Regions from separate parts of the Homo sapiens genome. Here regions 1 and 3 are each linked to region 2. The links are contacts of gene promoters, found by promoter capture Hi-C in human tissues and cell types (Jung and others, 2019). All regions are on one chromosome and are shown on one strand. Each heading gives the region's core, a stretch centred on a gene start or on the middle of the fragment in contact. The rest is flanking DNA. Distances are from core to core; before and after follow the strand shown. Region 1 overlaps LOC105372633 (a long non-coding RNA gene). Region 2 holds the start of MMP9 (matrix metallopeptidase 9). Region 3 holds the start of CDH22 (cadherin 22).

The links. Contacts are between HindIII fragments. The study calls those that stand out against the background at their distance.
Region 1: a contact is called between a fragment that was not itself captured here and the fragment with the promoter of MMP9 in region 2, in 1 of the 25 tissues and cell types used here (pancreas).
Region 3: a contact is called between the fragment with the promoter of CDH22 here and the fragment with the promoter of MMP9 in region 2, in 1 of the 25 tissues and cell types used here (neural progenitor cells).

Annotation. Positions count from the first base shown.
Region 1 is chr20:46,428,254-46,430,953 of GRCh38, reverse strand. All of the region lies in intron 2 of LOC105372633 (a long non-coding RNA gene), which reads right to left. Among named protein-coding and RNA genes, the nearest start is that of ELMO2, 23 kb to the right of the region's middle. The HindIII fragment of the contact is 3,067 bases long and covers 1-2,700 here.
Region 2 is chr20:46,007,522-46,010,221 of GRCh38, reverse strand. MMP9 (matrix metallopeptidase 9) reads right to left here and starts at 1,314. Exons shown (of 13, transcript NM_004994.3): 1 at 1,158-1,314; 2 at 124-356. The coding sequence starts at 1,295. The HindIII fragment of the contact is 9,924 bases long and covers 1-2,700 here.
Region 3 is chr20:46,307,164-46,309,863 of GRCh38, reverse strand. It overlaps CDH22 (cadherin 22), which reads left to right and starts at 1,366. Exons shown (of 12, transcript NM_021248.3): 1 at 1,366-1,609. The HindIII fragment of the contact is 29,361 bases long and covers 1-2,700 here.

The DNA of each region.
Region 1 (2,700 bases), core at 191-2,690, 420 kb before region 2:
ATTACTCCTGGGCTCTGCACCTCCAGTCCCCGGGCTGTCGTGGGGCTCAGAAGCAGAAACTTGCTCTGCCAACTCCCTTCTTCTGGACCCCAGAGATGCACTAGATCTCTAAACCCCAGAAGCTGCTTGGCTCACAAAAGGTTCAGTAGCTGGTTTTAAATTGAAGGATGAAGGCAGCACAGATGTATTCAACAACCATCCCCGCAGAATTCTCAGAGGAAATTCCACTATATTCTAAATGGCAGAAATGTGTTCACAGACCACAATGCAATAAAACTAGAAATCGCCAAAGAATAGCCAAACAAACAAAAACCTCATTACCAACAAAACCCCTATAGACATGAATATTCAAAACCTACTCTTTTAACTATCTATTGGGTTCAAAAGAAAAATTAAAGTAGAAATTATAAATTATTTCTAATGAATAACAATGAGGGCACAAAAAATAAAAAATCTGTGAACTATGACCGAAGAAGCATTCAAAGGAAGATATACAGGCATATCTCAGAGATAATGCAACTTCAGTATCAGACCACTACAATAAAGCTAATATTGCAATTAAGTGAGTCATATGAATTTTTTGGTTTCCCAGTGCATATAAAAGTTATGTTTCCTCTATACTGTCATCAATTAAGTGGGCAATAGCATTATGTCTATAAATGTACATACCTTAATTTTAAAATACTTTATTGCTAAAAAATATTGATGATCATCTGAGCTTTCAGTGAGTCGTAATCTTTTTGCTGGTGGGAGGGTCTTACCTCAGTGTTGATGGCTACTGACTGATGTGAGTGGTAGTTTGCTGAAGTTCGGGGTGACTGTGGCAATTTCTTAAAATAAAACAACAATGAAGTTGGCTGCATCAATCAACTCTTCCTTTCATGAAAGCTTTCTTTGTAGCATGTGATGCTGTTTGATAGCATTTATCCCACAGTAGAACGTTCAAAATTGGAGTCAATCCTCTCAAACCCTGCAGTTGCTTTATCAACTAAATTTATGTAATATTCTAAATCCTTTGTCGTCATTTTAACGATGTTGATAGACTCTTCCCCAGAAGTAGTTGCCATCTCAATAAATTGCTCTCTTTGAGCATTCATAAAAAGTAACTCCACACTCATTAAAGTCTTCTCATGAGATTGCAGCAGTTCAGGCACACCTTCAGGCTCCACTTCTAATTCTAGTTGTCTTGCTATTTCTATCACATCTGCAGTTACTTCCTCCACCGAAGCCTTGAGTCTCTCAAAGTTATCCATAAAAGTTGGAATCAACTTCTTCTAAATTATTATTAATGTTGATATTTTGACCTCTTCTCCTGAATCACAAGCATTCTTGATGTAATCTAGAATAGTAAGTTCTTTCTAGGAGGTTTTCAATGTATTTTTCCCAGACCTATCAGAGGAATTACTATTTATGGCAGCTATAGCCTTACAAAATGTATTTCTTAAATAATAAGACTTGAAAGTCAAAGTTACTCTTTGATCCATGGGCTACAGAATGGATACTGTGTTAGCAGGGATAGGAACAACATTTGTCTCCTTGTACATCTTCATCAGAGTTTCTGAGTGACCTGGTGTTTTGTCGATGAGCAGTAATATTTTGAAAGGAATCTTTTTTATTCTGAGCACAGTTCTCAACAGTGGGCTTAAAATAATCAGTAAACCTTGCTATAAGCAGATGTGCTGTCATCCAGGCTTTGTTGTTACATTTATGGAGCACAGGCCAAAGAGATGTAACATAATTCTAAAGGGCTCTAAGACTTGAGAAATGGGAAATATGCATTGGCTTCAACTTAAAGTCACCAACTACCTTAGCTACTAACAAGAGAGTCAGCCTATCATTTGAAGCTTTGAAGCCAAGCATTGACTTCTCTCTATCTGCGAAAGTCCTTAATGGCATCATCTCCCAATAGAAGGCTGTTTTGTCTACATTGAAGATCTGTTTTTTAGTGTAGCCACCTTCATCAGTGATCTTAGCTAGATCTTCTGGAGAACTTGCTGCAGCTTCTCCATCAGCACTTGCTGCTTCACTTTGCATTTTTATGCTATAGAGATGGCTTCTTTCCTTAACCCTCATAAACCAACCTCTGATAACTTCAAACTTTTCTTCTGCAGCTTCTTCACCTCTCTGTCTTCATAGAATTGAAGAGAGTTAGGGGCTTGCTCTGGATTCGGTTTCGGTTTATGGGAATGTTGCAGCTGGTTTGATCTTCTATCCAGACCACTCAAACTTTCTCTGTATCAGCAATAAGGCTCTTTTGTTTTCTTATCATTCATGTGTTCTGAATTAGCACTTTTAATTTCCTTCAAGAAGTTTTTCTTTGCATTCACCACTTGGCTGTTTGGTGCAAGATGCCTAGCTTTTGACCTTTCTTGGCTTTCAACATGCCTCCCTCACTAAGCTTAATCATTTCTCTTTTTTTAATTTTAACTTTTAATTTTTGTGGAGACATAGTAGTTATGTATATTTATGGGCTGCATAAGATATTTTGATACTAGCATACAATGTGTAATAATCACATCAGGATAAACCAGGTATCCATCACCTCAAGCATTTTTCCTTTGTGTTACAAACAATCCAATTGTACTCTTTGTTGCTTTTAAATGTACAATTAAATTATTATTGACTGTCATCACCCTGTTATGCTGTCAAATATCAGGTGTTACTCATTCTTTCTATTTTTTTGGACCCATTAACCATCCT
Region 2 (2,700 bases), core at 65-2,564:
AGGGGCCACACATTAAATAGTGAAACCCAGGGACGCGTCCAAGACAGGACATGTTCACCGCTGGCCCAAGAGCCAGACCTGGCCTCCCCGCCCCACCCCGCTGCCCCCACGGCCCCGGCTCACCAATAGGTGATGTTGTGGTGGTGCCACTTGAGGTCGCCCTCAAAGGTTTGGAATCTGCCCAGGTCTGGGACCCCGCACCGTGGGGTTCGCATGGCCTTCAGCGTGGCGCTATCCAGCTCACCGGTCTCGGGCAGGGACAGTTGCTTCTGGAGAAGCAGCAGCGCAGGCCCCAGAGATTTCGACTCTCCACGCATCTCTGCCACCCGAGTGTAACCATAGCGGTACAGGTATTCCTGTGGATGAAGGGACACACACATGCCAGATCTCTGACCCCTTTCTCTGCCCAGCTGGGGCCAAAGGACTCCCTCCAGACACTCATGGAGGGAGTCTTTTTTCTTTTTCTTTTTCGGAGAGACGGTATCAGCCCACTGCAGCCTGGACCTCCTGGACTCAAGCGATCCTCCCATCTCAGCCTTCTGCATAGCTGGAACTACAGGTGCACATCACTGTGCCTGGCTATTTCTTTAATTTTTTTGTAGAGACAGGATCTTACTATGTTGCCTAGGCTGGGCTCAAACTCCTGAGCTTCAGCGATCCTACCACCTCAGCCTCCCAAAGTGCTGGGATTACAAGTGTGAGCCGTCATGCCCAGCAGGGACTAACATTTAATAAAGCATTAAATGCTTTCCAGACACCAGTGCTTTCTGACCACCCAGGGATCTCCCCTCCTTAGACATCCTCAGCTCCTTCTCACCCCTGGATGCCTCTAGCCCATTTCTACCCCACAGCTGCATAAGGTTTGCCCCTGTTCACTCCCAGCCTATGCTTACCCCAGAACCCTCCAATGCCTCCCCCACCCCAAACCATTTCCCATTTCCCACCTAGGAAAGCCCCATTGCCCATTTCTGGCCATCACTGCTCAAAGCCTCCACAAGACCCCCCACTGCCTAACCCTGGACACCTCTGTTCTTCAGATACGCCCATCACCACCAACACACCCCTAAAGCATCTCCTCTGAGGCCCTGCATCCTCTCTGGGACACTCAACACCCTCACGGACAGCCCTCCCCAACTCTAGACTAGGTGTTTGCCCACCTCTGCCAGCTGCCTGTCGGTGAGATTGGTTCTCAGGTCTCCAGGGAAGAGCACAAGGGTGGACTGGCGCTGTCTGGGGGCAGCAAAGCAGCAGCCCAGCACCAGGAGCACCAGGACCAGGGGCTGCCAGAGGCTCATGGTGAGGGCAGAGGTGTCTGACTGCAGCTGCTGTTGTGGGGGCTTTAAGGAGGCGCTCCTGTGACCCCACCCCTCCTTGACAGGCAAGTGCTGACTCAGGGGTCAGGGTGTGTGTGTGTGTGTGTGTGTGTGTGTGTGTGTGTGTGTGTGTGTGGCAGCACCAGCATGAGAAAGGGCTTACACCACCTCCTCCTCTCTCCACTGCCCGCAGTCTCCACTGCCAAGTCAGGCAAGACCCCAGACCCGCAGGAAACCGCAGGCCCTCAGGGGAGGGGTAGGGTTTTGCAAACTGCAGAGCTTGTGGGAACTGTATGAAAGGGAGGGAGGGGGATGAAGCTGGAGGGATCCCCCATCCCTTGGTCTGAAAGCCTCCAGTGGTCAGCCAAGGGAAAGTGATGGAAGACTCCCTGAGACTTCTTTCTGAAACTAATGATCCCCCTGGCCCATCCTTGGCCTTTTGCAACACCCCCTCCCAGGTCAGATATCCTCCCCAAACCCCTCCCCACACTCCAGGCTCTGTCCTCTTTTTCCCTCCCTGACAGCCTTCTTTGACTCAGCTTCCTCTCCCTGCTTCATCTGGGGGCGGAAGGAATGGGCTCTGCTAGGCAAGGCTGGGGAATTCCACTGGGGCAACCCCCTGTCTTCCGCAGGCTGAATCTTCAGGGCAGTAAAGGGGACAGTAGCAGCCTCTAGAAAACAGCAGACATGGCTTTACTCTCTTCCTTCAGGACCTCGGGCAAATGTCTTACCACTTTGAAGTGTTTCCTCAGCTGTAAAAAAAAAAACGGGGGGTGGGGGGCTCTTTGTCCCTAAATTGATGTGAGGATTAAATGAGATCAAACATATAAAATGTTTAGAACACTGTAGGTTGTAAGTCCGCAACGGATGGTGGTGATTGGTTTTAATTACTAAGGCCAAGACCCAAGATTCAGGGCCAGGTATGGTGGCTCATTCCTGTAATCTTAGCACTTTGGGAGGCCGAGGTGGGAGGATTGCTTGAGCCCAGAAAGAAGGTCAAGGATACAGTGAGCCATGATTATGTCACTGCACTCCAGCCTGGGCAACAGAGCGAGACCCTGCCAAAAGACCATGATTCTAACTTGGAATCACCAAACCAGGTTATTGGGCTCTAAGCTGCAGTGTAACCTGGAGTAAATGCCTTCCCCTTTGTCAGCTTAGGATTCTTCAACTGCAAATTGGGGCAGGATATGGGGGAAAATAATCTATAGGAGCCCTTTCAGTTCTCCAGCCCTGCTCCATGCAGCCAAATCTCCAGCCCCAATTATCACACTTATGCCAAGCCTCCCTCCCAAGCCTCCCACACCAGCAGCCTCCCTCACTCCTTTCTTCCTAGCCAGCCGGCATCGGGCAGGGTCTATATTCACCTTCTTCAAAGCCCTATTTG
Region 3 (2,700 bases), core at 117-2,616, 300 kb before region 2:
ATAAATAAATGAATGATGGAGTTTAGTAGGAGGGGCCAGAGGGGCAGCCAGCAGGAGAGGTGATTCCAATCATCAGCAAGACGGACTAGGGTGTGGAGATGGAGATGGAAATTGGGGAAGGAGGCGAGGAGGAGAGAAGGATAGGGGCGAGGTAGAGCTGGGGGTCCTGGAGGGCCCTGCCCCCTCTTTGCCATGAACTTCAGCAGCTGCTTGTGGGTGATTAAATGGCTGGTCATTGGCAGCTTGGCGGGACAGAGGTCTGCAGCTGTCCAGTCTCCTGTTATCCTTCACTCACCTATCTGGAAGCCATGGGGAATAGGGGGGCGGGCAACTCCTAAGGGGACCTACAACCCAAGACAAAGGGTGGGTCTATGGGAGTCACTGGTCCTATCCTACCATCAACGACCTCATATTGGGAACTCAGGAGTGGGGTGGGAGGGTCTCCTCCATTAGGCCTCATCCCAGAGAGATGAAGTAGTAAGGAGAGCCAGGCAGCCAGGAGAAAGAAACAGGGCCAGGTGGAAAAAACATCAGGGAGCAGACCAGCCGGATTTTTAAAAGAACGGAAAACCCAACCAGCAAGGAGTTTCTGGGCAGTGGGAAGATTTTATTGGGAGACTTCTCCAGGTCAAGGTGGCACCAAGTTAAGGATGGAGGTGTCTTGTTTTGCCTGCTTACTTTGTTGGTTGCAAGGATGTCCAGCGGGACTCTCCAGAGGAAAAGCCCACAAGTTTCTCTCCCGGGGACACCCGACCTCCCACCTGCCTGGAGACTCAGCCCTGGGCACCTGGTCGGTGTCCACCTCAATGCACAGTGACTGTTTCTGAACTGGCAGATCTGGTCTGTGCAAGGTGCCTTTCTGGGCAGCAAGCCGGGGCGGCCACTGTTCGAGAAGCCTGCTCCTACCCTGGCCTGCGCCCCTGCTCCTCTGAAGGCGGCCTCCCGCAGTAGTCAGGGGGCGGAAATGGGAAGCCCTATTCGCAGTAAAATCAGGTGGGGAAATAGGCTCTGGTCTCAAACTGCGGCCACCTGGGGAGCTGCCAGGCGAGGAGGTAGATGGTCCCCCTCCTGGGGGCGCTCCCTTCGCGCGGATCTGGGGTTGGAGGAGGGAGGGGCACTGTCCCCTGGGGGGTTTCCTGGGACTGGGCCGCCCGAGAGAGGGAAAGGCTGTCCCCTCCTGGTGTAGGAGGGGCGCGATCCGGGGGGCGGGGGCTGGGGTTCCCCGGCTGCGGGGGTCCGGGCCGGCGGCCGCCTGCGGCTTGGCGCTGCGCGGCTCCTGCCCGGCGGGCCCTGCATTCTCCGAGTCTCCACCAGAGGCTGCGGGAGGAAGGAAGGGATCCGTCCCTTGCACACTTCCCCCCAGTCAGACACGCACACTCCCTCGCTCCCGCTCGCTCGCTCACTCCCTCGCTCTCTCGCTCTCTCGCTCTCTCGCTCACACACACGCGCGCACACGCCGCCGCGGCTCCCCCTCTCGCTCCCGCTCTCCCTCCGGCTCCTGCGGGCGGCCGCGGGGCTCCGGACTCGCCCGCTGCCCGCGCCGGGGCTCCCGCCCCACGCAGCGTCCCGAGGCGGCAGGACTAGGGGGAGCCCCGGGCCGCTCCCCGAGGTAAGAGCGCGGGGTGCCGCGGGAGGAGCGGCCGGATCGCCGCCGAGGGGAGGCTGCCCGGCAGGGAGGGAGCCCCCTGGCCGGCGGGAGCGGCCGGGCAGGCGGCGCGGGGGGCGAGCCTCCAGCCGCAGGAGGAGCCGGGGTGCCTGCGCCCGGCCCTGCGCGCCCCCTCCTCTCGGCCGGGAGGGCGGGGAGGGAGTTTCCCACGTCCAAACTTTCCCCGGCGCGGAGCCGAGCCGCCTCTCGGCCCGAAGCCCGCAGCTCCCACCCGTCCCCACAACCTCGTCCGCCGCGCGCCCGGGAGCCTCCGGGACCCCCGCGGGCCGAGGGGTGGCAGCGCCAGGGGCCGAGCCGGCGCGCCAAAAGGGGCTGGGAAGGTGGCGCACAGCCCTGACGCGAGGGCTGGGACCCAGGCGTTCCCGGTCCCCCAACCCTGCTAGCGGGGCTCGGCTCCCCGGCCCCTCCCAGAGGCGGGGTCCGGGGCCGGGAAAATACCGCACGGCGCGAGCGTGTGCGCGCGGTGTGTGTGTGCGAGGTCGTGCCGCGTCCGGGGACACCCGGAGGCTGACTCCAGCCGCGGCGACACGCACGGTTCTGGTCCCCTCTGAGCCGGGGAGGCGGCCCACAGGGACCCCTGCCGGCCCCACCGGCGCGACCCCCCCTGCCCTATGGCCGTCGGGCGGGCTGGCGGTGAGCGAGAGCCAGCGCTGCTCTCTTCCTTAGGACCCGACTCCGGAGACACCGTCCCCGCTGGGGAAGAAGGACGGGGCCCCCGACAGCCTAACGTCCAAAGAGAGCGCCACTTAGGGCTAACCCTCGGGGGCCGCGGCGTTTACTGTGAAGAGTGGACTGCGTGGGCGCGCGGGGTGCCGGGCAGCCCTGGGTGGGCACAGTGTGGACCCGTCTCGCTCGCGCCTCCCCGCTGCCTCTTCTCTGGCAACGTCGGGCCCTGTCCCAGGCGGGGCTGCAGAGGGTAGGGCTGATCCAGGATCCCCCGAGGTCTCCCCGAGGTGCAGGGCACCCCCTTGTGGCGGGCAGAGAAGCTGCTGTTTGAAGCTGCTCAGGTCTTCCGAGGTGCTCGCTCCTTGGAA